Linked DNA regions of Homo sapiens: regions 1, 2, 3 and 5 are each linked to region 4. The links are contacts of gene promoters, found by promoter capture Hi-C in blood cells and fetal thymus (Javierre and others, 2016). All regions are on one chromosome and are shown on one strand. The core of a region is centred on a gene start or on the middle of the fragment in contact, and the rest is flanking DNA. Distances in the headings are between cores, read along the strand shown. Region 1 has its middle 39 kb from the start of MRPL17. Region 2 holds the start of OR56A1 (olfactory receptor family 56 subfamily A member 1). Region 3 holds the start of OR56B4 (olfactory receptor family 56 subfamily B member 4). Region 4 holds the start of SMPD1 (sphingomyelin phosphodiesterase 1). Region 5 overlaps OR2AG2 (olfactory receptor family 2 subfamily AG member 2).

The links. Contacts are between HindIII fragments. The CHiCAGO score rates a contact against its expected background, and 5 or more counts as called.
Region 1: a contact is called between a fragment that was not itself captured here and the fragment with the promoter of SMPD1 in region 4, in 9 of 17 cell types (activated CD4 T cells, non-activated CD4 T cells, naive CD8 T cells and 6 more). The highest score is 18.1, in activated CD4 T cells.
Region 2: a contact is called between a fragment that was not itself captured here and the fragment with the promoter of SMPD1 in region 4, in 4 of 17 cell types (monocytes, neutrophils, M0 macrophages and 1 more). The highest score is 7.8, in monocytes.
Region 3: the fragment with the promoter of OR56B4 here is called in contact with the fragment with the promoter of SMPD1 in region 4 in 5 of 17 cell types (neutrophils, M0 macrophages, M2 macrophages and 2 more); the score reaches 14.3 in neutrophils.
Region 5: a contact is called between a fragment that was not itself captured here and the fragment with the promoter of SMPD1 in region 4, in 1 of 17 cell types (non-activated CD4 T cells). The highest score is 5.5, in non-activated CD4 T cells.

What each region holds. Positions count from the first base shown.
Region 1 is chr11:6,719,512-6,725,191 of GRCh38, forward strand. It overlaps the pseudogene GVINP1. Among named protein-coding and RNA genes, the nearest start is that of MRPL17, 39 kb to the left of the region's middle. The HindIII fragment of the contact is 3,154 bases long and covers 208-3,361 here.
Region 2 is chr11:6,026,253-6,032,384 of GRCh38, forward strand. It overlaps OR56A1 (olfactory receptor family 56 subfamily A member 1), which reads right to left and starts at 4,506. Exons shown (of 2, transcript NM_001388488.1): 1 at 4,450-4,506; 2 at 1-1,474. The coding sequence starts at 1,440. The coding sequence ends at 496. The region is part of intron 1 of LOC107984303 (a long non-coding RNA gene); the gene reads left to right. The HindIII fragment of the contact is 1,300 bases long and covers 3,489-4,788 here.
Region 3 is chr11:6,105,441-6,111,549 of GRCh38, forward strand. OR56B4 (olfactory receptor family 56 subfamily B member 4) reads left to right here and starts at 2,244. Exons shown (of 1, transcript NM_001005181.2): 1 at 2,244-3,395. The coding sequence starts at 2,339. The coding sequence ends at 3,298. It overlaps LOC124902622 (a long non-coding RNA gene), which reads right to left. Exons shown (of 3, transcript XR_007062565.1): 2 at 4,824-4,908. The HindIII fragment of the contact is 4,106 bases long and covers 1-2,769 here.
Region 4 is chr11:6,385,829-6,391,723 of GRCh38, forward strand. It overlaps SMPD1 (sphingomyelin phosphodiesterase 1), which reads left to right and starts at 4,646. Exons shown (of 6, transcript NM_000543.5): 1 at 4,646-5,088; 2 at 5,556-5,895. The coding sequence starts at 4,771. It overlaps LOC124902624 (a long non-coding RNA gene), which reads right to left and starts at 4,528. Exons shown (of 2, transcript XR_007062573.1): 1 at 4,279-4,528. RefSeq lists a silencer at 4,363-4,862. The HindIII fragment of the contact is 7,977 bases long and covers 3,597-5,895 here.
Region 5 is chr11:6,762,321-6,768,373 of GRCh38, forward strand. OR2AG2 (olfactory receptor family 2 subfamily AG member 2) reads right to left here. Exons shown (of 2, transcript NM_001004490.2): 2 at 3,306-6,053. The coding sequence ends at 5,687. Among named protein-coding and RNA genes, the nearest start is that of OR2AG2, 6.6 kb to the right of the region's middle. The HindIII fragment of the contact is 4,187 bases long and covers 2,496-6,053 here.

The DNA.
Region 1 (5,680 bases), core at 535-3,034, 330 kb after region 4:
GGACATGTGCAACTTCTTTGGACAATGATTGTCCCATGTGATGTCTCATTAATGACATGCGTTGTGTTTTCTCTTCTGAAGAAATAGCTGTGTCTCCAACTGTGGCTGTCAGACCTGTGAGAACCAGGAATGCCTGAGCCCTATAGCTGCAAATATTCTTAAGCTCCTGGTATTTATTTTGGGCGGTTTGCATTTCATCCAGTAGGAAGCTTAACTCATCACACCCCAAGAGACTCTGAAAAGTATTGTTGATCACATGATATCCTGCAGCAGCTGCAATGGAAAGTAGCAAGAGTTGTGTGTCTGTCTGCTCTGTTTTTTGGAGATAATTCAAGAAGCAGCTGAGAGCCAAGCTGACCTCATAAGTGGACTTTCTTTGAGCTTCCTCCACTGTTTCTGGGGACTCAGATTTGACCTTTACTTCCATGAGGTTATTCTGGGTTTCTTTTAAGATCTCAATTAATTGAGAAAATTGGGAAATATTCACCTGCTCCTGCTCTGAATCTGACTGGAAGATCCACTGCATGATGAAGTGAGCCTGAGGAAAGTTTGTCACTCTGTAGATGTGAGGATCCAGAAGGCTGCGCAAATGAGATTTAATACATTTAGTTTTATAAATGGAAGACTTTTTGCAAAAGTTGATGGTGTTTACTAGAAAATTCTGCAGACTCTAATCTGTGAGACATATATTAATCCAAGTGTCATAACTTTTTAGTTTTTGACTCAACATTTTCATGAAATTTATCAGTTTTTTAAGTTGCTCTTCAGGATCAGATACCTCCCAAGATTTTACATCCTCTAGAAAAACCCTGGCCTCCTTCCCAGCACTCAGTAACTCTTCCCCATTCTGGATCTGGGCAGTGATGCTAGTCAGAGCAGTGTAGCTGTCTTTCAGGAAGTTAGCCACCTGAAGAGGATCCTTAAAATTGCTTCTGTGGCTAGAGAGGATAATGTCCCAAACTGGCACCAACTGAAGCCCGCGGTCAATGACACACCAGGTTTGATTGCTGGCAATGAGGCCAGCTTTCCACTGGACAAGGCCATCTGCTTCTGGTGGGCCACCTGTTTGGGCCACAGATAATTGGACCTTGGTTTGGAGGTTTTGGGAAGTTTTGGTCTGAGTGGCTGTCTTCGAATGAGAGTCTGAAACATTCACACCTGCAGCAACTTTCACTCCAAAGCCACTGTAGCTGTCCCTTATGAAAATGTCCAGGGCCTCTGCAGACTGCTGCCTCACTTCTGCCAACTGCTCCGTGCAATAACCCTCTGAAATGGCTTTCCACCAGTAGATTCCTCCCAGGTGCAGAGGGCCTTGGTTAACATGAGAGCCAAACCTGTGGAAGAAGTTTATGATCCTGTGCCTCAGCAAGGAGAACCTGTCTGGGTTTGTTGTCTGACTCAGAAGCTCTTCAATGCATTTCAATTCCTGGACAGCAGGCTTGGATAACTGGAGCTGATCAATGGGAAAGTGGCAGGAGGCCAGGGGGATATAGCTGAACTTGGTTGAGCAGAAATAAGAATTCTCAGAACTTGATTGTTGGGTTTCCTTGGATTCTGGATGTTTGCTGTGATCCAAACCAGCTTCTAGACTAAACCCCCAATTTCCGTCCTTGGCTGAAGTAGTTAAACGAAAGCCCAGCTTCTCTACCATCTGGGTAAACATGAATTCAGCCTGAGGAGATGTGAATTCCTTTGTTTTCATTTGTGTTCCTTGCTGAGGACCCAAAAGTAAGAACTCTTTGGGGACACTGAGCAACTCCTCTCTCTTCTCTGTCAGGCCCCTTTGGTGGCTGGCTTTGTAAATTCCCTGGAGGGCCAGCCCTCCAGATGCCCATCTCACCACATCTCTATCTGGAAGGTTTTGCCTGTGGCACAGTGTCCACTTCATGAGGTTGAGTTGTCTCTGCAGGTTTTCCATGAGTTCCCTTAGAGGCTCTTCAGGGGATGGCCAGTACTCTTCAGGGATGTCCATTGCTTGCCTCAGCTCTGCTTCTCTTGTCCTCACTGCCTCTTCCTGTCTCTGCTTCCCTTCTGTCAGCAAGTCCCTCAGCTCCTGCAGTGCCTGTTCTGCCTGCTTCTGCTTTCTCTTTGCCCTCTCCACCTGAGACTCCTGTAACGCTGAAAGACTTTTTGAGTGTGACAGATTAAGCAGCTTTCTCCCATGGATGTTGTGTCTGGGATTTCAGCTTCTTGAGGTTGTTTTTGTCTAGGTGTTGTAAGGCCTGGGCACAGGTCACACCCAGGTGTTCCTGCAGCTTGGGTAACCAGTACTCAACATCCAGGCCCACTTCTCTCAGCATCTCTTGGAGGTCTTGCCTCCTTTTGCCTCTGAGCAGAGGGTCATCAGGGGTGTGCTCTCCTGTGGCCATGGCTGCATAAAAAACAGACACTCAGTTAGCTGACTGTTCTGACCTTAGGAAGTGTCAGCCACATGGCCAAAAGTGTAAGTATACTAGTATGCAAGTCTACAAGGCTTTCTCATTCCTCATTTAATTGTTTTAACAAAAATTTTTTAACACCCTTTTTTGTGTGCAAGCCATCATTGTGGATATTTTCAATGTGGATTGCCTTTGTGGTTTGCAGGGTGGGTTGCAACTTACTAGACTTATTTTGACAATTCCTTTTACATAGAATCAATTGCATGTAAAACATTAAGATGAGAGACGGAGTTTGAAAATATGCTTGAGTTTGAGTTTGGTAGCTTGATTTTTTTTTTTTTTTTTTAAAGAGTGATGGAACCAACAGATTATCTAGTTTCTGTGAAATCTGTGTTGCCTGGTTTCCTTCCTGTCTCTGTGTCACTTCTTCCTAGGGCATTTCATGATATTTATTTGCTTTCCTGCCCTTTTAAATGTGCTACTAACCTGGTTTATGCTTGTCACTCCCTTCTTACTCTTAATTTTCCCTAGTTAATATCATCTTTCTGTTACATTAATAGCTGTCTCTCTGTTGATGCCACCTTCATCTGTGTCTGTAGACTCAAATGCTCCCCTGTATTTAATGTTTTATTAATGTTATGTTTTTCCCCTCACTACCTTCAGTATATATCCTTGACCAGCAGATGAGATGAGATTTTACATGTTTCAATTTCATACGTTATTCAATTTCCCTTCCTCCTGTAATTCTTGTCCTGCTGAATGGCACCACCTTACTTCCAGGCCAATGGGCGTCTTGTTCATCCTTCTTCTTAACATGAATTTAGTACATAATATCTTTTCCATTTGTCCTCTTAAACCTCTATTTAATTTCACTTCTTTTTGACACTCTATCCGTTCTCCCTTAGATGTTGCCTTCATCATGTCTATCGGATTGCTATAATAGTCATTCTATCTTCTATGGTTTGAAGGTTTGTCCTCTCCAAAGCTTATGTTGAAATTTAATTGCCATCTTAATAGTATTAAGAGGCAGGAGAGATGATTAGTATTGAGAGGTGATTAGGCCATGAGGGCTATGCCATCATGGGTGGGGTTAATGCTGTTATGAAAGGTTGAATTTTGTCCCCTTTTGCCTCTTGTGCTTCTGCCATGTGATGACAAAGCAAGAAGGTCCTTGCAAGATGCTGACACCTTGACCTTGGACTTCCCAGCCTCCAGAGCTTTGAGCCATAAATTTGTTTATTGTTAGTTACCATGTCTCAAGTGCTCTGCTATAGCAACACAAAACAGAGTAAAACACCATCTTGCAGTCATTTTTGTCTTGCGCATTTCTTCTTCCTCAATGTCTCTACAATTTAAATCTGCATGTTAATTAATGGTAAACTCAGCAGCTCAAACCAATCTTTCCAATGAAAGCCATTTGAAATAAGTAGAGAAATGTATAAGACAATTTTTTAAAGCCTTAAGTAATTTACCTGGTAAAAATATCTGACAGAAGAGGTAAATAATCTGAAGCAATAATGAATGAAAAAATTCCATTATAAATTAAAGACAAAGTTTAAGACCTTTGCAAACACTAAGTAAAAAAATTAAAGTAAAATAAAATAACTTTACAATCAGATGCATCAGAATAAAACTGCAGAAACAACAAGAACAACAACAAAACAACAAATACATGTAGAAAGTACAAATACAAGTAGAAAAAGAGTTTACCTTTAAAAACCTAACAGAGAGCTGATTTCTGAACAGCTATAGTGGAAGCCAAAAGAGAGTAGAATGGAGTATTTATTTCACTGAAAGAAAATATCAGACACAAATTTTATGTATAGTGAGATATTCTTAAAGAATGATCGTGGAAAAGGGACATTTACAACAAAAATTAAAGACTTACAGTTGCAAGATTATGGCATAGGGGCAAGCTGGCTTTACTGTCCCCACTCAGAAAACCAAAAACAAATATATAGCACTGAAATTTTTACCATCAATAACCCAGAGCTCAAGTATGAGGATGAGGCAGTTCCCAGGACCACACAGAAGTGGGAAAACTCTGAGCAGATGGTAAGAGAATCAAATTTCCACATCTGTAATGACCCTACACATTATTCTCTTTGGTACTAAGAACATAGAAAATCTCCCCTGACACCCAACTCAAAGTTTCTACACTGGAACAGGTGAAATTGAGGTGGTCAGTCAGCTTTCCCACTTTCTTGAGTCCCCTGTAAGTTGACCTGTCTTTGCCTTAACCCACAGGAAGCATCATGACTACCTAAAGGGATAAATATCCCTGAGGACAAGCAAAGACAAAGGGAGGAAGTGAGAATATCATCCACATCCTAGGGAATTCTGCTCTGTAACTTGGCCAAAGGAGATGCCAAATCAGAGTGGCTGTTTAGCAGCAGCACATTGTAGGAGGTATGTTCCATAGGTGCCCTGGGCATGAACCATTAGCCAGCCTTCCCACATTGCTGAGATAATCCTTTTGAGACCTCCCCCATTCAGGACAGGCAACGCTATAATCATTTACCAGAGCCGAGGTGAACTTAGGCTTAAGGCACCACCTAGACTGAAAAAGGAGGCAGCAATCTAGTGGTAAATATTCACTAAATAAATATACTAAATAAAAACCAGAACAAGCCAAAGAAAGAAAACTGGAATAAATAACTTCTCCTTCAATGCAAAGGCATTGGCACATGCCCACAAGAAACAACAACAATCAGGGAGCCATTACCTCCACAGAAAGACTAAGCAAAAATCCAGTGACTGACTCTAATGAGATAGTGATCTGTGAATTCTCTGCCCAAGAGAAACTCAATTATCTCAAAGGTAAAGCAGTTCAGAAGCATGTCAGAAAGTGTAACAAAGAGATTGAAACAATAATTAAAAAAAATTAAACAAAAATATTGGAACTGAGACATACGTTTGCTGAAACAAAGAACCCTTTAGAGGCTCTCAACACCAGAATGAACTAAGCAGATGAAGGAATCAGTGAGCTCAAAGACTGGCTATTTGAAAGTAGATAGTCTGATGAGAAAAAATAATGAAAAGGAACAAAGACTGCCTGCAAGATATAGAAAATTACCTCAAGGGACCAAAGGTAAAAATTGTTGCTGTTCAAGAGGGAGCTGAGCAAGAGTAAGAGAGTAAGTGGTAGAAGGCTTATTTAAAAAAAAACCCAAAAAACAAAAACAGGATGGGCATGGTGGCCCACACCTGGTAATCCCAGCAATTTGGGAGGCTGAGGTGGGTAGATTGCTTGAGCTCAGGAGTTTTAAGCCAGCCTGAGCAGCATGGCCAGGCCCTGTTTC
Region 2 (6,132 bases), core at 2,889-5,388, 360 kb before region 4:
GGTCTCAAAGAAGTAAGAATAGGCAGAAAATACCTGTCGACATCCAGAAAGACAAAATACAGGTCAAAGGAAAGCAAAGGCTGGTCTTGAGCTTCAATTGCAATTGATGAGGCATTTCAACTATGTAGAAAGAGCCTAGGTTTTATTGTTTTTGCTTCCCACATATGTGATCTTTGGTCATTTCCCTTCCTAAAAGCATCTCTTTTTCTACTATGTGAAATGAAAGTAACAATGCCTGCAGAGATGTGTTGAAGATTAAATTACTTAAATGTAACTGCCAAGGTTCAAAGCAGCCACTCAATAAATACGAGTTTCTTCCCCTTGCCTACCTCCACCTGAACTAGGCAAGGAAAGTAAAGGAAGGAATCTGGTTCAGTAATGAAGGGAGCCTCAGTGCATGCAATAAACACTCACTAACTGACATTTCTCTACTTCGCTGCCTAGGTAAAATCACTGAAGAGGAAGAACAGGAGGTATTAGAAATGCTTTACATATTCACCTCCCTCTCTGCAGTAACTTCTGAATTCCCTGTTTTATCTCTTTGGTCCGAACCCCATACACAATAGGGTTCAATGCAGGAGGAATAAGGTGATGAAGGACGTTCAGCAGGATCAGGATGTCCATGGGGACCTTCTTTCTGGCCACGTTTGTCAACACCACAACCAGCAGTATGGTGCTGAAGAAAAGAATGAGGATGAAGTGGGAGCCACATGTGCTCAGGGCCTTCACTGCCGCCCCCTCTGCTTTGAATCTAAGCACAGCTCTTAGAATGAAGGTGTAAGAGAGGAAGATGAGGAATAAATCTGAGCCCAGCAAGGTCCAACCAGCCACAAATTGGTAGATTCTGTTAAGGGTGAAATTATCACAGGAGAGCCTGGACACAGACAAGTTGGCACAGATGCAGTTCTCAATGACATTTTCCCCACAGTAATGGAGCAGGGAAGTGAGGATAGGAATGGGTGCAGTAAGAAGCGCATTCCGCACCACAATGAAGACACTAGCTTTGGCCACAAATTGATTAGTGATGATGGATGGGTACCGCAGTGGGTGGCAGATGGCCACATAACGGTCATAGGCCATGACCATAAACGTGCAGGACTCCATGGGGAGGAAACTGTTCATGATGAACATCTGGAGGAAGCAGGCAGGGAAGCTGATCGACCTAAGATCATACCAGAAGATGGCCAGGACCTTGGGGATGACGGTGAGGCAGAGCACGATGTCCAGCAGGGAGAGGAGGCTGAGCAGGTAGTACAGGGGCTGGTGCAGAGAGGCCTCCAGCTGGATGGTGATCAGGAGGGTGGTGTTAGCTCCCATGGCCAGGAGGAAGAGAAGGCTGAGGGGCAGGGAGAGCCAGTGCTGCCAACTCTGGAAGTTGGGGAAGCAGATGAGGAGGAATTCAGAGACTGGGACAGTGGAGCTGTTGCTGGGTGACGCCATAGGCTGAATCATGAGCTGAGTAGGCTTCTGATGACTATGTTTATGGGCAGATACAAGAGGTTATTTTTACAAATTGCTTTGAAAAGTATCCCTTTCACTTACTCTTTAGGAAGCCAATGATAGGTAGTTCACTTTTGCCAAGTAAGGCAAATTTCAGCCAATATTCTAAAGGTAGAATTGTGAGACTTGATAAATAATGGTGTGGTCTATGAAGAAAAATGAATGAATGAAAAACCTATGAAGTTTAAAAAAAAAAAGGGTAGTGACAGGCAGTAACCTCACTATATGTTAAAACATATTACAAACACGCAACAAATTAGGCCAGTATGTTACCAGTGTAAGAAAAGCAATGGTAGATGATAAGTTTTTTAATAAATCATTTTGGAGAAAAATAGCTTTAATTAGGTCTTTGCTTTCTACTATACACCAATATAATTTGAGATGGATATTTTTGTTACATCTCTTACCCAAACTCATGGTATACTAGAAGAAAATAGAATATAAATTTGATTAAGTCATCCCTTTGCTAAAACTTCAATCTATATGAATATAACTATTCATTTCCCACAACCTGAGCCTGAACATCCTAGTGCTCCTGGAATAAAACTGAAAAAAAAAAAAGGAAAGAAGAGGCTAGTTTTACTATAAATTTGTGATCATTAACCTTAAATGTGCCTTCAATAAATATTGCACCCTACAAATCTTCCCTAATCAACTTTCTCCTCTAGAAAAAATTATTTCCCAAATGTCTTCATTTTTTTCAAACCTGAAACTCTACTTCTTTCAGAAGGTGACATCAAATACCACGTCATGGAGAAAGTAGAAAGTAATCAGTAAAATTTTCCTCAACTTTTCAAAATAAAATCTACAAATCTAAAATCATAGTGAGATACATATTACCCTAGTCAGAATGGCTATTATCAAAAATACAAAAAATAACAGATATTTGCAAGGATGCCAACATGTATAAGGGAACTTTTATATGCAATTGGTGGGAATGTAAATTAGTACAGCCTCAAAGGAAAACAGTATGGAAATTCCTGAAAGAGATAAAAATAGAACTACCCTTACATCCAAAAGTCCTACTACTAGGTATCTACCTAAAAGAAAAGAAAACGATATATCAAAAAGATAATTGTACTGGTATGTTTATCACAGCACTATACACAATAGCAAAGATATGGAATCAACCCAAGAGTTCAACAACAGATGATAGGATAAAGAAAATATGGCATACACACAATGGAATACTACTCAGCTATTAAGAAGAATGAAATCATGTCTTTTGCAGCAACGTAGATAGAACTGGAGGCCATTATCTTAAATGAAACAAGCCAGACACAAAAAGACAAATATTGCATGTTCTCACTCATAAGTATGTGTTCAAAATGTGTACATATAGATGTAGAGAGTGAAATGATTGACAATGGAGACTCAGAAGGGTGAGGCGGGTGAGAGGGGGTGGATAATGAGAAATTACTTAATGAGAATAATGTACATCATTCAGGTGATGGATACCCTAAAAGCCCTGACTTAACTACTATACAATCTATGCATGGAACAAAATTGCACTTTGATCCTATAAATTTATATAAAATTTTGTAAGACTTATAAATAATGTGTATATACTCTCATCCTTTTCTTGTTTCCTTTCATTAAAATAAATAATCTGTCCATCTTCAAGAATTGATCCCATCTCTCCCAGCTTTGAATTCTGGCTCTTTCTCTAACTCTCCCCTTCCCTTCATGCACAAACCTCTCACAAGCATTTACACTCACTGTCTCCATTCCCTCACCTTACATCCATTCCACAACTCACTTCAATTTGGCTTCCATCTCCATTAGTTCCACAAAATAGCTCTCAGAAATCACCTACAGCTTCCCTATTGTTAAATCTTGTTGAAACAGTTGATCAAATCCTCTTCCTTGAAACACTCTCTTTGGCCTAATTCATATATCACAGACTTCTAGTTTACCTTGTACCTCCTGGTCACTCCCTCTCATTTTCTCGAACACATCCATCATCCACTACCTTGACGTCAGTTTAAAGCTTCAGTCCTACATTTTCTTCGCTTTTCTTCTTTCCTCTCTGATATTCTGTTTTCCCTTCTTCCACTTCTTTTATCTTGTCTATGTCATTAGACAATTACCATCTCTATTACTAAATTACTGAATTATGTTTCTTACTTAGACCTCTCCAGAAGCCTACTTTATGTATCAACCTGGGTTTCCCAAAGATATTCAAAGCTCACCAAGTCCAAAATTTAAAAACCTGGTCTTTTGCCAGCATCTCAGTGACTGGTGTAAATATTTGTCAGTTTTAGAAGCCAGCGCCCAGAAAATGTCTTGAACATTTATTCTACCCATTGAAAATGATACGAAGTACATGATGAAACCACTAAGACATGTCATTTTCCCTTTTAATTAGCCCTGGAATCCATCCACTTCTCCATATCCACTCTCACCATCCAAGTACTATTACCTCGAGTAAAAAGTAAATATTGCCTCCTAATGCAGTCTAGGTTTCTTTATAAACCATTCTCTACATTGAAATCAAGGAAATGTTTTTAAATATAAATATTACCAGTCATCTGATTAAAATATTTCAGTGGCTTCTCATTGCTAATATTATAAAAAGGAAATTTTTTACTTGAACTTCATGAGACCATAAGTTCATGAGGGAAGAAACCATGTGTGGTTTTTCTTTTATCATCACTATATAAACAGGGTATAGATAGATTGCTAGGTACACATAGTTAACTGACTACATTATGAAAGGAAGGAAGGAAGGAAAAGGAAGGAGGAAGGGAGGGAGGGGAGGAAGGAAAGCAGGCAATGCCATATATTATCTACCTCCTTCCTCATTTTCCAGTTCCATCTAACACCCCATCTCCCTTGCTCCCTGAGCTTCAGCCACACCGTCCTTTCAGATCTTCGAACGTTACATGAGCTTTCTGATCCCACTTCTCTTGGAAGGCTGTGCATCTTATGCTTCTACACAACACTTACTTTCTCCTCATCCTTTACATCTCAATTCAAATACTCTCTTCTCTGAGAGGTTTGTTCTAACCCCCTTTACACAAGATCAAGTCCTCCTATTTTATGTTTCTGTAGTACTTTGAACCATCCTCATCATCTGTAGTTATACATTTATATGATAAGTTGCTTACATACTCCTTCTTCCAATGCCCAATTAGACATTTCATGCCATGAAAATAACATCAATTAGCCCAGTGCTTGACATGAAATGGCTAAAAATATTTGTAGAGTGAGTTAATTAGACATATGAGCAGAATAATAGGAAGGCACAAAGGAAAATTTCTGAACTCAACCCTAGAGGAAAAGAGAAGCTTTCCTAAAGCTGCTAACAACTTAGCTGAGTTTTATTTCAATAGATGTGGAGGATTTACATGCATTAAATCTGTGTAGTGTATTGAAGATATAAAAAATGGATTATGTGAAAGCATGGAGATGAGTCTGAGAATAACTTTGGAAGGAAATTCTATGCAATATTTAATCTGACTGGAGCCAAAAGGATGAGGAGTTGAAAGAAAGAGCCAAAAATGGAGTTGATAAAAGAAAAAGCCAGATCTTAAGTACATTTTCTATGCTGAAGATTTTAGAACTAGTCATATGGATGAAAAGAAATGGAAAAAAATATTTCCATTAGAAGAGAGACATGACCAGATTTAGGGTACGTACAGAAAGATCACTCTGGACACATTATTATGCATGAACTTGGGTAAGGCAAGAGAGCAGAAATAGAAAGAATGGCGGCCGCAATAGCCAAGGTGAGAAGTGACGTGCAACTGAACAAAGGCTGAGGCACTGAGGATGGGAAGAAGGTGAATCTTCCAGAAGTCATATAGACAGAACTTATTGACAGATTTGTTTTAAAGGAGAAAATAGGTGAGAAGCCCAGAGTGACCCCCGGTTTACTAGCTTGAGTAAATAAGTTGCATCACCAAGATGTAAAATACAGCTAAATGAGTAAGATTAGTGTGTACTGGGATATGTCAAGAACGAGGTGTTTATAATCGCCACACATAGATTTGTTTTCGGCTGTTTCAAACTGAAGAGTTTGAGAAAATTAGAAGGATCGTAGTTTAGGACATAAATTCAGAAAGCATTAGAACATAGCCTGTAGAGTTGGAATAGCACAAGGCTAAGATTGGAACCCTAGAAAATAGTAACATTGAAGGGGTGGAAAAAGAAAAGGGAGACATAAATGGAAGGGCTAGAAAGGTATAAAGAAAATCTTAAGAATAAGATGCCCCAGAAAAAACCAAGGGGAAAATTTCAAGAAGGGTTTTACTAACTTGTTAGTCAAGTAGAAGTTCAATAACATAAGGACAGTGAATATTCATTAAATATTATAATAAGGGTGTGTCATTGGTAACCTGGCCAAGAGAGATTCATTTGACTGGTAGCAACAGAAACCAGAATGAAGGGAGCTGGAGAACTAGTAAGTGAGGAAGTGTAGATGGGGAAAGTTGACTGTGTAGCTAAAGTCCATTTCAAACTTATAATAGAAGAAAAAGCAAGGCGGAAATGAAAGATACTGTGGTATGTTTATATGTTCAGGGAAAGAGTAAATATTCAGAAGGAAAGTAAGATAATTGAGGTAGCTACTTCACTGAGGAAGCCACTTCTACTATTAATAAATTTTATCTGTAAACCTTAGCATGTTGT
Region 3 (6,109 bases), core at 994-3,493, 280 kb before region 4:
ACTGCTGGGTTTATATCCAAAAGAAAGGAAATCAGTAAATAGAAGAGATATCTGCACTGTCATGTTTATTGCAGCACTATTCACAATAGCGAACATATGGAATCAACCTAAGTGTTCATGAATGGATGAATGGATAAAGAAAATATGAGATATATAGAGAGAGATATATATAGATACATACACACTATATATACACACACTGTATATAGTATAGAGAGTGTATATATATATCCAATGTGATACGCACACACACACACAGTGGCCTATTATTCAGCCACAAAAAGGAATAAAATCCTGTCATTTGCAGAAACATGAATGGAACTGGAGGTTATTGTGTTAAGTGAAATAAATCAAGTAGAGAAAGACAAATATTACATGTTCCTACACATGTTTGGGAGCTTAAAAAGTGGATCTCAGCTGGGCACGGTGGCTCACGCCTGTAATCCCAGCACTTTGGGAGGCCAAGGCAGGCAGATCACCTGAGGTCAGGAGTTTGAGACCAGCCTCGCCAACATGGTGAAACCCCATCTCTACTAAAAATACAAAAATTAGCCGGGTGTGGTGGCACACACCTGTAATCCCAGCTACTCGGGAGGCTGAGGCAGGAGAATCGCTTGAACCTGGGAGGTGGAGTTTGCAGTGAGCCGGAAAAAGAAAAAAAGTGGATCTCACAGAAGTAATGAATAGAATGGTGGTTACCAGAGGCCGGAAAGGGTGGGGGTAGGGGAAGAATAGAGGGTGGCTGATGGGGACAAAAATACAGTTAGGTGGAAGAAATAAGTTCTAGTATTCAATAGCACAGTAGGAAAATTATAGTTAATAATTTACTGTATGTTTCAAAATCGCTAAAAGAGAATTGCAATGTTCCTAACACAAAGAAAAGATAAATGCTTGAGGTGATGGATATCCTAATTACACTGATTCGATCATTACACATTGTATACATGTATCAAAATATCACATGTACCTCCAAAATATCTACAAATATGATATATCAATTCTAAAAATACAAAAAAAAATCATTAAACTATAGGGCATCTAGGTGGTAGAAAATAATGCAACTTAACTGCAGTATGGAAATATGGAGCAGTCTTCAAAATATTAAGTTAAAAAAGAAAAGGAAAGAAAAAAGGAGAAAGGTGTGCTAACAATTGATTATGTCTTTTATGAAAATTATATATATATATATATATATATATATATGTTTTTATCCATGCATAAACTATTAATGGAAGGATTCCCAAGAAACATATTACTGGCTGCCTCTAGTGAAAAGGAAAAAGATTTCAAAGCCCCAAGCATGAGAGTCTTACTTTTCATTGTTTATATTTTTCATTTTATTTTGATTTTTACCATGTATAGATAATATATCTTAAAATAAAATCAAAATTATATTTAAAATTTTAAGACTATTATATCCTTTGTATATATAATTTTTGCATCACTTTTGAAACTCTACTCAAGGAAAACAATATTAAAAGCAAAATACCTGTCAGTAAATTATAGAATAGCCAAATGCAAAAATTTAAAGCAGCAATTAAAATTAACATCACACTTTTTAAATAATATTGTGAAGTCTTTGGTTAATGTATTCATCCATGAAATAAAATTTTTGAGTGCTTATATTACATCTTAACACATACTGCTAAAAGACAAAAACAAGATACAAAATCATCTCTAGATAATGATGTAGACTGTTTAAAAATAAAATAGAAAATTGGAAATAAATCAAATACTAACATTTGTTATCTGTTAGTGATAAGACTGTTGTTAATATATGTGGACATGCTTATTAGACATACAAGTGGTGATGAAAAATAGTTATTCCAACTCTTCTGTTTAGAATTTTTTTGCTTTTTTTGTTATTCCTCTGTGGAATATTTCCAGAAGTCAAATAAAGTTGAGGGTCATTCATGAATAAAAGGAGCTGGTTCATTATTGAGGAGCTCTTACCAAGACACTTAACTTTTTGTTTTGTTTTGTTTTTTAAGACAGGGTCTCACTCTGTTGTCCAGGCTGGGGTGCAGTGGCACAATCTCGGCTCACGGCAACCTCCGCCTCCCAGGTTCAATGATTCTCATGCCTCAGCCTCCCAAGTAGCTGGGATTACAGACAGGCACCACCACACCCAGCTAATTTTTGTATTCTCCGCAGAGATGAGATTTTGCCATGTTAGCCAGGTCAGTCTCGAGCTCCTGACCTCAAATTATCTGCCTGTCTCAGCCTCCCAAAGTGCTGGGATTACAGGCATGAACCACGATGCTCAGCCCCTTAGCTGAACTTTTAAACAGAGATTTCTTCTATTTCAGACAGACACTGAGACTGAGGCACCCATTCCATGGATACCTCCACCAGTGTTACCTATGACTCCAGCCTCCAGATTTCCCAGTTCATCCTGATGGGATTACCAGGCATTCATGAGTGGCAGCACTGGCTCTCCCTGCCCCTGACTCTGCTCTACCTCTTAGCTCTTGGTGCCAATCTCCTCATCATAATCACCATTCAACATGAGACCGTGCTACATGAACCCATGTACCATTTGCTGGGCATATTAGCAGTGGTGGACATTGGCCTGGCCACCACCATCATGCCCAAGATCCTGGCCATCTTCTGGTTTGATGCCAAGGCCATTAGCCTCCCCATGTGTTTTGCTCAGATCTATGCCATCCACTGCTTCTTCTGCATAGAGTCAGGCATCTTTCTCTGCATGGCAGTAGACAGATACATAGCCATCTGTCGCCCTCTTCAGTACCCCTCCATAGTCACTAAAGCTTTTGTCTTCAAAGCCACAGGGTTCATCATGCTCAGGAATGGCCTGTTGACCATCCCAGTGCCTATACTGGCTGCCCAGAGACACTACTGTTCCAGGAATGAAATCGAGCACTGCCTCTGCTCTAACTTGGGGGTTATCAGCCTGGCTTGTGATGACATCACTGTGAACAAATTTTACCAACTGATGCTAGCATGGGTCTTGGTTGGGAGTGATATGGCTCTGGTATTTTCTTCCTATGCTGTAATCCTTCACTCTGTGCTGAGGCTGAACTCAGCAGAAGCAATGTCCAAGGCTCTGAGCACTTGTAGCTCCCACCTCATCCTCATCCTCTTCCACACAGGTATCATTGTGCTGTCTGTCACACACCTTGCAGAGAAAAAGATTCCCCTTATTCCTGTGTTCCTTAATGTGCTGCACAATGTCATCCCCCCTGCACTCAACCCCCTGGCCTGTGCACTCAGGATGCACAAACTCAGACTGGGCTTTCAGAGACTGCTTGGACTGGGTCAGGACGTGTCCAAGTAACTCCAGCTTTAGGAATCCAGTAAGATGTTAGGAAATGACAGAGGTTTTAGTTCTCAATAGATCAGGGTTATAATCTGCACTTACCACACTCCCTAGGAAAAAAATGGCCAATAAAATCATGAAAACTGTCAGCCTCACTAATCAAAATATGTATATTAAAATTACAAGAAAATTTCCTATTACCTGGAAAATAAGTAAGAACAAAAAAGTGAAATGTTTCTAACTATTACTGCTAGCCTACCCCGAGATTAACACTTTCCTACACAACTGGTAGGACTATAAACACACCAAAAAGCAATTTGGTAAAATTTATCAAAATGTTTATAAATGTTTAAATGTTCTTAACCAGTAATTCTATTTTAGAAAAATATCCAAAAGAAATAGTCTAAATGCAGTCAAAAAGTTATTCATAAAAATCATTATAATATGACTAATAATAGAAAACAAAGCCTTTAATATTTACACATATTTAACTCTTACATATTTATGTGCTTTTCATATGTAATTTTTATAATAAAAAGTAAACAATAAATGTTTATTAAAAAGGAGTAAAGTTTAATTTTCGTACCCAAAAAAATCTCAATAATTAATGAATTAATGGTTAACAAGTGTTAAATACTTCTTGTAGGCCAGAAACTTTGATAAAATATGTATGTAGATTATCTGACTCAATTCTCACAATAACCCTTTGGGCAGGTACAATATTATTCCCAATTTCCAGCTAAGAAAACTCAGGCACTGGAAATTATAGAACTTGCCCCCTGACAGCACAGTTTCTAAGTGGGAGAGCTGGGATTCAAGTCCTGGGAAGTCTGATTGAAAAACCATAGCACTATTCTTACTCTCAGTCTTGCTCTGTTCCAAAATTTCTGTGTGAACTTGAACAACTTATGAAACCTCCCTATGTTTCAATTCTTCTGATTAAAAGTGACAAAAATCATAACATTTTGCTGAGCCAAATCGCAAACATGCTGTGACAATCAAAAGAGATAAAGAATACATGCTTTGAAATAAGATATACACATGGAAATATAAATCTAACTATGTGGCAGTTTTCTTGCTAGGAAAGGAAGAAAATGGATCCTAGAAAATGCCCTATAAAAATAGTTTCAAATAACCTGTTAATTAAAGCTAACTGAATTTTTGCTGTTTGCTCACCTAAAAAAATTGCACACTTTTTGAGTACAAGAACCATTCATGTGTACTTTCAATGAGCCTCAGTCAGAACATTGCACACAGTAGGTGCTTAATTCATTATATAATCAGGGAGCATTATAGATCTGTTGAATTATGTGTATCAAAGAAAATACCTGGACCATGGTCTGAATAATGACCTCAGGAAGTTTGCACATGAGTCCACCTTGGAAAACAACTTCTTAGGAAATAGCACAAGGACTAAAGCAACATCAGAAACCATCAGCTCATCTCACCAGAGTAATGCATGCTGGGCAGCATAACAGAGCTGCAGGGGGAAGTCATCTGTGTGCGGGACAGGACTTCTTAAGAGTTATGCTTGGAAACTTACCCAAAAAGAGACTATCAACTTCCTCCAAAAGAATTGGCTGCTTCATTCTTTCTTGACAGTGATTCAAATGGAAGCAACTGATCATCTAATAAGAGGAGGCAAGAGAGAGACAATTACAGAAAGGATTTTAACTTAACTCAACCTCCCATGGTTTGTTACCCTGAAGGATCAGAGTAATAACATCTAATCCTGCAGAGTTCTTCACAGTTTGCAAAATACTTTCCCACAGTGGATTGAGTAATTTCACATAATTTTCATAGCAGTCCTCTTAATTAGGAAGCTGTTAAAGGATTACTATTAATTCTTTTCTACAAAGAAATAGGGGCTAAGTTTGGGTAATTATATAAATTCACCCACTGGGAAGTGGCAGTACTGAGGCTCAGGCAGTTTAGCTGTCTCTGGTAGATGGCAATAGTGTGCCATCCTCAAAGCTGCCTTTAAACTTTCATTCATACATACCTTTATTTATTTATTTGTTTATTTATTCATTCATTCAAAAATACATAGCATGAGTCTATGCACAGCAGCCCAAATTGTAGGCCACTCTCAACAACTTCTGTGGACATGTGTCTCAGTTCTTCTGAAAATAAATAAACACCTAACATTCATCTTGGAGTCAGGAAGATTTATGCAATTAATTATTCTCTCCTCTATATGTGCCATGAGGATAAAAAAAGATTGTGCATTGTTTTATTTTTATGAATTATTTATGTTTGTCATGTATTTCATATTTGCCCATATGCTTTGCTTTATATGATTTTAATACTGTCATACTATATTTGCCTGTTTGTCTTCTCTCATTCACTTCTTTCCATATTCCTTTGATATTTTAACTTTAGTCTGTCTTTTGGAAACACCGTTAGTTTGATCTTTATTTTTAACCATATTTGAGGAACTTTCCCTTTAAATAGGGGAACTAAGTCCATTCATATTTGTTATAATTCCTATGATTTTGTTTTGTTTCACCCTGTCATCTTATTTATTTTTATTATGTTTTCTGGCAGATTTCTCCTACTCCTGACTTTTGCTGAACTGATCTCTTTCACACATCTCCCCACATCCCCATTTCATTGATCTGCACATTTTATTAAATATATCTATTTGACAGGTTGTTGTATGCATAACTTTATTAACACATTCAAACTTATACTTTTTTATTAATATGCCCAAATTACATAATAGTTATGCAGTATTTTCTCATTCCAATTCCAAGCTCAAGATAAGAACTTTATCATTTTTATGTCTCTTTTATTCTCTGTTGAACATCTCACTGAATATGGCACATT
Region 4 (5,895 bases), core at 3,396-5,895:
TACGCAAAATGTATCAGGCCCAGAGAGACATGAGTATGGGACTTCAGTCATACACTCCACCCCTCACCCCCACCCTTGCTCCCACAAAACCAAGAAGTGGGGTGCAATTGTTTGTTCCTAGTCAGACATGCCTCACCCTTTATCTTCACATTCCTGGGATTTATGATACAAAGAACAAGGCATAGCCAATCAATAGCTTATGTTATTTTTATGTAAATTCTTGGTGAACAACTTAGTGTCTATGAAAAGAGTGAAACTCTGTAAAATATTTGAAGAGATTTATTTTGAGCCAAACGAGTGACCATGGCCCGTGACACAGCCCTCAGGAGGTCCTGAGAACATGTGCCCAAGGTGGTCAGGGTGCAGCTTGGTTTTATACATTTTAGGGATGTATGAGACATCAATCAAATAAATTTGAGAAATACATTGGTTTGGTCAAGAAAGGTGGGACAATCTGAAGCTGGGGGATGGGGAGCTTCCAGGCTATAGGGAAATTTAAACATTTTCTGGTTGACAATTGGTTGAGTTTGTCTAAAGACCTGGGATCAATAGAAAGGAAATGTTCAGGTTAAGATAAAAGATTGTGGAGGCCGGGCACAGTGGCTCACACCTGTAATCCCAGCACTTTGGGAGGCTAAGGCAGGCGGATCACGAGGTCAAGAGATGGAGACCATCCTGGCCAACATCGTGAAGCCCCATCTCTATTAAAAATATGAAAATTAGCTGGGTGTGGTGGCAGATGCCTGTAGTCCCAGCTGCTCGGGGGGCTGGGGTAGGAGAATTGCTTGAACCCGGGAGGCGGAGGTTGCAGTGAGCCGAGATTACACTGTTGCACTCCAGCCTGGGCGACAGAGTGAGACGCCATTTTTAAAAAAAAAAAAAAGATTGTGGAGACCAAGGTTCTTTGAAGTCTCTTAGTGGCTGCCCTTAGAGACAACAGTCGACAAATGTTTCCTATTCAGACCTTTAAAAGGTGCTAGACTCTCAGTTAATCTCTTCAGGATTGGAGGGCCCAGAAGAAAAAGATCTGTGTTATTAGAGATTCTTTACAGATGTAAATTTTCCCCCATAAGGTACGACTTTGCAGGGCCATTTCAAAATATGGCAAAGTGGCCGGGTGCGGTGGCTTACTCCTGTAATCCCAGTACTTTGGGAGGCCAAGGCAGGCGGATCACCTGAGGTCAGAAGTTCGAGACCAGCCTGGCCAGCATGGCAAAACCCCATCTTTATTAACAATACAAAAATTAGCTGGGCATGGTGGTGGTGGGTGCCTGTAATCCCAGCTACTCGGGAGGCTGAGGCAGGAGAATCCCTTGAATCTGGGTGGGGGAGGTTGCAGTAAGCCAAGATCACCCCATTGCACTCCAGCCCGGGCAATAAGAGTGAAACTCTGTCCCGCCCCCCACCCCAAACCAAAAAACATATATATATATATATATATATATATATATATATATATATATATGGCAAAGAAACATGTTTTGGGGTAAAATATTTTGACTTTCTTCTTTATCACGTAATTTTATGCCAGAGTATGACTGAAAAGGCAGTCACAATATATAGTGTTAAATAAAACCCAACTGATAAGAATTTATGGTTTGTAGGGCATGACTCCCCAGACCCTTTCGATAGGAATTTGAGCAAGATAAGAAAAAATCAGAGCTTAGTCCTCATTAGGAACTGCCTCTTCTTCTCCTTTAAAAACCCACTTGTGACTTCTGCTAATTGGGAGCATATACTCAGGGCAACTTGAATCTTCGCTTCACAGTCTTCAAACTTGGCCCAAATAAACTCTCTACTTATATCAAGTTTGCCTTAGATTTTTCCCTTTAGGTTGACATTTCCCAGAAGTTTTAATCAGATGAAGAAAGCTCCCAGAAGGTTTATTTCTGCATCTATTGAATCTGAAATGTCTTCGGCTTAAAATAATTGTTATACCAACTCTGGTGTTCTGAATGGGTCCCCACACAGCAAAGAATAGAGCCAGAATGTTGCATTTGTGAAAGGAAAATAAAAACTCAGGACTCCAGTTGACTATGCCAAAAGGAAAAAAAATAAACTGAAAACTGAGTCATGCAAGAAGCTGCCTTTCCTTTTGTTCCTAAGCAGATAGCTACAGACAAAAGGTTAAATATTTACAAAATTAGCCGGGTGTGGTGGCACATGCCTGTAATCCCAGCTACTCAGTAGGCTGAGGCAGGAGAATCACTTGAACCCGGGAGGCAGAGGTTGTGGTGAGCCGAGATTGCGCCATTGCACTCCAGCCTGGTCAACAACAGCGAAAACTCTGTCTCAAAAAAAAAAAAACAAAAAAAACACAAAAGGTTAAATATCTCCACAGGCATATTTACTTTATCTTATGTAAAGTGCCAGACGAACACATAATTGAGTATCTCCCTACCTGCTCCTTTTCTCTTGCGACATGTGGATTACCATACCCTTCTTCTTTCCCTCCAGCTCACTTTTCCCCTTTAAATATTGAAGCCCTCAAAATCATCTTTGGAGAAAGCCACAGACCACAGACTGTTTCTGCGATTCCGTGTTTATTTCTTCCAGCCATGTCCTTAACCTTGGCAAAATAAACCTCTAAATTGATTGAGACCTGTCTCAGACATGTTTTGCTTGACACATCCAAATTCCAGTTCCAGCACTTACTAGCTAGCTGTGGGATCTTGAGCCACTTACTTAATCCTACTTTCCTTCTCCGTAAAATGGGGATAATTATAATACCGACTTCCAAATTTGTTGTGAGGATTAACGTAAGGCAGAGTCCTCAGAAAAGTACCTACAGAGGGTTATTCGGGCCAAGGGCCAAGGTTGAGGACTGCGACCCAGGACACACTTGCAAGTTGTCTTGGGGGAGCACTCTGGACAACAAAAGAGAGGCTCATATTTTCAAAGAAAAAAAGATGAATTAGGAGAGGAAATGAATACAAAAGTTGTTCATCAGGAATTCTCATTGTTTACAGAAATAACACTGGTTATACATTGTTTAGCGCTTGGCTATACATTGTTGAACTATAAGGTGTATGGCATTTAATGGCTACTTGGCATAGCAAGTGGTTTCAAGAGATAATTACTTAGCTCAAAGAAGAGTGAGAGTGACTGTTGCTACATTTTAAATGCCTGTCTGGGCCTGATAATTTAAAGGGGCTCATCTTCCTTAGATAAAAAGGTTTTGTTTTGTTTTGTTTTTCATAGTACATAATCTTAAAAATGCATGCTAATTATTACTGTGAGTACTCTATCTGAGATGATGTCCCCAGAACTGGGGGGAAAAAACACTTGTAAAAAATTATCAAAGGAAAGAACTGACAGGACTTGATAGCTCTGAGGATTCCTCAGAAGCACTCGTCAAACAGCTTAGGGTTTAATTGCTATTCTGCCACTTAACTTCTTTGTGCCTCATCCTATCTGTAAAGGAGGGTAATAATAGTATTTGCAGGGACCAAGGGAAACTTTCCCTTCGCCCTCTGAAATTCTGCTGAAAAATCAACCCACAAAAAACAGATTAATTGAAGAAAAGGCATAGAAATTGTATTAATGTGTCCACGGGGAACCACAGAGTGACTACCCACTTCCCAGACGAGTTCAGAAGCTTAGGTGTCATTCAGGCAAAGGGGGTTGTGGGAGTGAGGGGAAGAGGAATTCTGCTGAGGGAGAAGGAATGGATCAGGGAACAGATTAACTAGCACATTATCATGTGAAGGGGTCTGTTCAGGTGTGATTATATTCTTGGTTTTGTAGGGAGGGGAAGAAAAAAACCGTTGTTCCTTTTGATGGGTCTGGACGCTAGGTAACGGCTTTGGGAGAGAGGGCGCGGGAGTAGGAAGGCCAGACACACCTTAAGGCTTAACTTAGTAAGTCAAACCACCATATTTTGGGTATGGATTTCTGAGCCCCAATATAATAGGTACTTCTTAGGGTTGTTGTGAGAATTGAAGATTATTAATTATAAAGTGCCTGGGTTGGTGCTTGGCACATCATAAACAACTCCATAAATGCTCGCTTTTACTGTCGTGGATACACGGAGGTGGGAGACCCAATTGGGTTCCCGCCCATGTTATTGGCCCCCACGGCTATATGGTCTTTACGGCTTCCTAGTCTCTTCACCATCTCTAAGGTTTGTTTCCTCATCTGAATCACAGGTGAGTGATTCTCAGGGTGACTCAAGAGGGCTGGTGCCAGTGGCAGAGCATGGGGAATCGAGGGAAGGCGCCTTCCTGTCAGAGGCAACACACCCAGTGGGAGGATCCTGCCCGCCCTGCTCTCTCCTACCTCCCCTTCCCGGGCTAAACGCTGGGGTCGGTCTGGCAGCTATTCCGGGAATCTGAGCGCGGATTCTGACAAAGGAGACGTCTTCCACCGACCACATCACATGGAGCTCCAAAGCACGAGCACGGCCTCCCGCGGCTGTGACCTCAAGGCGGAGCCCCTGGTGACCTCAGGGAGAGTCCCCACCCCCGCAGCCCGTGCGCCCGGGGCAGGGCGGGGGCAGGGAGAGGGGGCGGAATCGGGGCGGTCCCGGGAGCGCCCCGCCCCCTCCGCCTCCGCAGCGTTGACAGCCGCCCGCCACCGAGAGATCAGCTGTCAGAGATCAGAGGAAGAGGAAGGGGCGGAGCTGCTTTGCGGCCGGCCGCGGAGCAGTCAGCCGACTACAGAGAAGGGTAATCGGGTGTCCCCGGCGCCGCCCGGGGCCCTGAGGGCTGGCTAGGGTCCAGGCCGGGGGGGACGGGACAGACGAACCAGCCCCGTGTAGGAAGCGCGACAATGCCCCGCTACGGAGCGTCACTCCGCCAGAGCTGCCCCAGGTCCGGCCGGGAGCAGGGACAAGACGGGACCGCCGGAGCCCCCGGACTCCTTTGGATGGGCCTGGTGCTGGCGCTGGCGCTGGCGCTGGCGCTGGCGCTGGCTCTGTCTGACTCTCGGGTTCTCTGGGCTCCGGCAGAGGCTCACCCTCTTTCTCCCCAAGGCCATCCTGCCAGGTTACATCGCATAGTGCCCCGGCTCCGAGATGTCTTTGGGTGGGGGAACCTCACCTGCCCAATCTGCAAAGGTCTATTCACCGCCATCAACCTCGGGCTGAAGGTGAGCACTGAAGGGGCTGCAGTGGAGGAGGCCGAAAGGAGTGCTGGGGCTGGGGGCTGGGGCTGATGCTGGTGCGCTGGGCTCAGAATGCATCCCTGATGGAGAGGGTGGCATCTACAATCCATCACTGAGTTTGCTCCCCTTTGGGGACACCCATGGCTACATGCCACCATCACCCCATTGTGACCTTTGTGAAGTAAGAAAATAATGCAGACAGTGCCTGAGGAAGTCAGCTTGCCAAGCAAAGGCCTCATGCCACAGGCCGCTGAGCTAAAGAAGAAGCGATGGCCTGGTGCTGCCTGAGTTACAGGGCAATATCTGGAAGGCAAAGGTGTGCACTGAGCTTGGTGCACTGAGTCCTGCCCAGCCCCAGTTTGGAAATGGAGGCCCAAGGGGTGGTGGCCAGGGGTTGGCCTGGTTCCTCTGCTCTGCCTCTGATTTCTCACCATGCGCTCCTCCCACTGCAGAAGGAACCCAATGTGGCTCGCGTGGGCTCCGTGGCCATCAAGCTGTGCAATCTGCTGAAGATAGCACCACCTGCCGTGTGCCAATCCATTGTCCACCTCTTTGAGGATGACATGGTGGAGGTGTGGAGACGCTCAGTGCTGAGCCCATCTGAGGCCTGTGGCCTGCTCCTGGGCTCCACCTGTGGGCACTGGGACATTTTCTCATCTTGGAACATCTCTTTGCCTACTGTGCCGAAGCCGCCCCCCAAACCCCCTAGCCCCCCAGCCCCAGGTGCCCCTGTCAGCCGCATCCTCTTCCTCACTGACCTGCACTGGGATCATGACTACCTGGAGGGCACGG
Region 5 (6,053 bases), core at 3,339-5,838, 380 kb after region 4:
ACTAATGTGCCCTACACCAAGCCGCCTTAATTGATAATTGATGAGAATTGGTGTGTAAAAACCCCTAGATTTCTGATAGAGTTTGGATGTTGTCCCCTCTAAATCTCATATTGAATTGTAATCCCCAGTGCTGGAGGAGGAGCCTGGTGGGAGGTGACTGGGACATCGGTGTAGATCCCTCATGGCTTGGTGCTGTCCTCCCAATAGTGACTATTCACAAGATCTGATTGTTTAAAAGTGTGTGGTACCTTCTCTCCCCTACTCTCTCTCGCTCCCTCTCTTGCCATGTGACATGTCTGCTCCCGCTTTGCCTTCACCACCATAAATAAAAGCTCCCTGAAGCCTCACCAGATCTGAGTAGTTGCCAGTGCCAGGCTTCCTGTACAGCCTGCAGAACTGTGACCCAATTAAGCCTTTCTTTATAAATTACCCAATCTCATGTATTTTTTATAGCAATGTAAGAATGGCCTACACAATCTCTTACATCGTAGTTGAGGTATACCTCTGAGATACATGTTCTACTCTTTCCAAGAATTCCTTAAGAAGATTAGGAATCAGTTGCCCACAATAAGACAACTCACTCGTTATTGAGTCTTTTCTTTGTCTGTTTCCCTCTTGCAAATTCTACTAGTTTTTCCTGGAATTACTTCCTAAATATATTACGTATTCAAATTCTTGCTCAGAATCAAATTCTGAGGGAACCCACATTAAGATAAACTGATTGTTCCTCAGCAAAAAAACAAAGCTGGAGGCATCATGCTACCTGAATTCAAACTATATTACAAGGCTACAGTAACCAAAACAGCATGGTACTGGTACCAAAACAGAGATAAAGACCAATGGAACAGAACAGAGCCCTCAGAAATAATACCACACATCCACAAACATCTGATCTTTGACAAACCTGACAAAAACAAGAAATGGGGAAAGGATTCCCTATTTAATAAATGGTGCTTGGAAAACTGGCTAGCCACATGTAGAAAGCTGAAACTGGATCCCTTCCTTACACCTTATACAAAAATTAATTCAAGGTGAATTAAAGACTTAAATGTTAGACCTAAAACCATAAAAGCCCTAGAACAAAATCTAGGCAATACCATTTAGGACCTAGGCATGGGCAAGGACTTCATGACTAAAACACCAAAAGCAATGGCAACAAAAGCCAAAATAGACAAATGGGATCTAATGAAACTAAAGAGCTTCTGCACAGCAAAAGAAACTACCATCAGAGTGAACAGGCAACCTACAGAATGGGAGAAAAATTTTGCAATCTACCCATCTGACAAAGTGCTAATATACAGAATCTACAAAGAACTTAAACAAATTTACAAGAAAAAAACAAACAACCCTATCAAAAAGGGGGCAAAGGATATGAACAGACACTTCTCAAAAGAAGACATTTATGCAGCCAACAGACACATCAAAAAATGCTCATCATCACTGGTCATTAGAGAAACGCAAATCAAAACCACAATGAGATACCATCTCACCCCAGTTAGAATGGTGATCATTAAAAAGTCAGGAAACCACAGGTGCTGGAAAGGATGTGGAGAAATAGGAATGCTTTTACACTGTTGGTGGGAGTGTAAACTAGTTCAACCATTGTGGAAGACAGTGTGGCGAGTCTTCAAGGATCTAGAACTAGAAATACCATTTGACCCAGTGACCCCATTACTGGATATATACCCAAAGGATTATAAATCATGTGACTATAAAGACACATGCACACATATGTTTACTGCAGCACTATTCACAATAGCAAAGACTTGGAACCAACCCAAATGTCCAACAATGATAGACTAGATTAAGAAAATGTGGCACATATACACCATGGAATACTATGCAGCCATAAAAACGGATGAATTCTTGTCCTTTGCAGGGACATGGATGAAGCTGGAAACCATCACTCTGAGCAAACTATCACAAGGACAGAAAACCAAACACCACATGTTCTCACTCATAGGTGGGAATTGAACAATGACTACATATGGACACAGGGCGGGGAACATCACACACTGGGACCTGTCGTGGGGTGGGGAACTGGGGGAGGTATAGCATTAGGAGAAATACCTAATGTAAATCACGAGTTAATGGGTGAGCAAAACAGCATAGCACATGTATACCTATGTAACAAACCTGCACGTTGCGCACATGTACCCTAGAACTTAAAGTAAAAAAAAAAAAAAAGAAGAACTGTTTGTAATTGTTTTCCCTTGCCTGAAAATTGTCTTTGAATTCATGCTGTCTCTGCCTACTTTGGAAGTATTTCTCTGATACCAAAGGCAGAGAATGACACTACAAGAAAACAAAATTACAGGCCAATTCATCTAATGAACATAGATGCAAAAATTCTCAACAAAAATATGACCAAACCAAACTCAACCGAACATTGAAAAGATCATTCACAATGATCAATCTGGGATTTACTTCGAGGATGCAAGGATGGTTCAACGTGTGCAAAACAGTAAATGTGATATGCTGCATTTATACAGTGAAGCTTCTGCATAGCAAAGGAAATAATCATTAGAGTGAAAAGACAACCTATAGAACGGATACAAATATTTTGAATCATACATCTAATAAAGGGTTAATATCCAAAATATATCAGGAACTCAACTCAATAGCAGGAATAACCTGAGTAATACATGGGGAAAGAACCTAAATTGACATTTCTTAAAAGAAGACATAAAAATGGCCAACATGTATATGAAAAGGTTCTTAAGATTCATAATCTTCAGGGAAATGGAAATCAAATGAGATATCACCTTACATGAGATATCACCTTCCGTCTTTTAGATTGGCTATTATCCAAAAAACAAGATATGAAAAGTGTTGGTTAGGAAATGGAAAAAAGGGAGCTTTTGCACACTGTTGGTGGAAATGTAAATTGGTACATTTTACATTGTACCAATTTAAGCAGTATGGAAGTTCCTCAAAAAGTTAAACATAGAACTACTGTATGATCCAGCAATCCCAATCTGAGTGTACACCCAAAGAATATAAAATTAGTATGTTTAAGAGATATCTGCACTACTGTGTTCATTGCAGCATTATTCTCAATAGCCAAGCTATGGAATCAACCTAAGTGTCCATCAATGAATGAATGGATTAAAAAATGTGATATATATATATAGATATAGATATAGATATAGATAGATACACACACACACACTCAGAATAGAAAGTCTTACCTTCTTTAAAAAAGAAGGAAATCGTATAATTTCCAACAACATGAATGAATCTGGGGAACATTATTTTAAGTGAAATAAGCCAGGTATAGAAAGAAAAATATCACATGATCTCATTTATATGCAGAACCTGTAAGCTGAATTTACAGAAACAGAGAGTAAAATGGTGGTTACCAAATGTTGAGGTAGGGGGATTTGGGAGATGCTGGTGAAAGGACACAAAACTTCAGTTAGACAGGAGGAATAAGTTCAAGAGATTTATTGTAGATCATGGCAATTATAGTTAATCAGATTATATTGTGTGCTTGAAAATTGCTGAGAAAGTAGATTTTAACTTTTCCTAATGCAAAAAAGATAAGTATGTGGAGTAAAGCATATGTTAGTTGGCTTGATTTAGCAATTCCATAAAGTATACATATTTCAAAACATCATGTTTTACTACATTAAGACATACATATTTTGTCAATAAAAATAATAAACAAATGTTTCATTTCTAAAAGGAAATAATAAAATAAGATTTTTTAAAAAGGCTTTTTACTATTTATCCATATAGCAGCCAAAATGTTTTAAGCACAGTTTACTAAGCTGTGGTCTCAGTACCTGATATTAATTATCTTATTTAATCTACCCAACAATATCACAAGAGCAGGCCAGTAAATATCACCACTTTTAACATCAGCAGACTAAGGTACAAAGAGTTTAATTTAGCGTTCAAAGATGCATAGATGACCAAAGGAAGAGAGGGATTCAAATGCGGGCACTCTGGTCTGCTTTCTCATCACTACTCTAAAATATTCCCTCATAGCAAGGAAGAAGATTCACCAAATTTCAAATGGAAAAAACACAGGACCTTCATCATCATGGACATTTAAATTCAGTAAAATGCATATATGTGCAACAAAAAAGAAAAATTTATAAGTGATTTTTGATTTATTCTAATTTTTTTAATTTTCTCAGTTTTTATAACAAAGTTGGATTAATTTTATAGATTAGCTTTATCTTTTATTTTTTATGGTTTAGCTTTATAGATTAAATAATGTAATATTATTTCTATAAAGAAAACAAGAATTATTGTGTTTTGACAAAGCACTATTCTCAAGAATAATAACACCTATGTAAGCCAAGATATTTTGGGAATTCTGCATTCAACAAATTTAAGTTCCCAAATTTTGCTATAAATCTTCCCACACTGATGAGTAGAATAAAAAAAATAAGGCTTATTTAGGCTAGCTAGAAAGCAAATTATAAATTTTATACTTCCTTTTCTATGGAAACACACATGTACATACACTCACCTCAAGAATATAACCTCTTTCAATTGTTTTAATGTTTAAAAACACATTCACATATCTGCAAGTCCACATTTTAAAAAACTTAGACAATATTCCCAACAAATTTCTCTCATTGTTATTGTACTCACTTTAAAACTGGTACTTTCAATTCTATTTTATTCATTCTTTATTTTAGTTTTAATTTTAGGCAATGTAAAAATGCCCATTTTCAAAAAGACTGTCAAAATTTCCAAGTAGAAATATCTTTCTTTATCCTTTTCCATTCTTTCTTTCTATTTATTTATTTATTTATTGAAACGGAGTCTCTCTCTGTTGCTCAGGCTGGAGTGCAGTGGCGCGATCTCAGCTCACTGCGACCTCCGCCTCCCAGGGTCAAGCAATTCTCCTGCCTCAGCCTCCCGAGTAGCTGGGATTACAGGCACCCACAACTATGCCCCGCTCATTTTTGTATTTTTAGTAGAGACCCGGGTTCCACACGTTGGCCAGGCTGGTCTTGAACTCCTTACCTCAGGTGATCTGCCCACCTCAGCCTCCCAAAGTGCTTGGATTACAGGCGTGAGCTACTGCGCCTGGCCACACTCTTTCAATGTAATTATTTATCATTACTCAAGTAACCAATGTGAAGGTCCCTTAGGTCTAGAGTACAAATGCAGTCACATAACTCTTATTCATTTCCACTAACTGCTCAAATAATCATCTACTTAATAAACAGGAAGTCTAATATATCTTCTGAAAATTCTTCCCTCTATTAGTAGTTTAAGAATCTGCTTCAAAGGGAGTAGTCCTCCTCTGATGCTGAGAGGCTATTGGAATTTGGTCAGTCCAAAACTACTGCTGCTTCTCACTGCTATGTGATGTTAAAATGGAAAGCTAATCCCCTACCATGTCTACTTGGTAATGTGTCAGGACGATGCCTACCACAGAGTGAGTCTACAACACCCATTCAAGGCTTTTCCCCCATCTGGTTATTTTTATAACATGGGTTTCCAAAGTCAGGATGATGTGTGCCAAATGAGTTTAACTCAAGATCATTGTACACACCAGATTCACAGTTGAAAATAAAAGTAAAATTTAAAAAATGTATCTATCATCTCAGAGTACAGTATTGAAGAATGAGTGAGTAGAGAATTTTATTTGGAGCAGGAATGAGTGAGTAGAGAATTTTATCTGGAGGAGGAATGGTGAGAGGCAAGCCATGATCCTTCCCTAGAGCGTGGAATGTGCCAGCAGTATGTATTTTCCCAGGACCCTCCTCAAGGCCCGCATGACCTCCTTATTCCTCAGGCTGTAGATGAGTGGATTCAGGGCTGGAGTGACAATTGTGTAGAAAACAGAGATGATGTTGTCTTGTTTGGGGCTGTGGAAGGAACTGGGCAAGACATACATGAATGTGGCAGCTCCATAGAACATCCCGACCACAATCAGGTGGGAAGAGCAGGTGACAAGGGCTTTCTTCCTCCCCTCATTTGATGGCATACGAAGCACAGTGAATAGGACTAGTGTGTAGGAGGCCACAATGGCAGAAATGGGGAGCAAGAGGAAAGTCACACCTGTCACGTATATTATAAGCTCA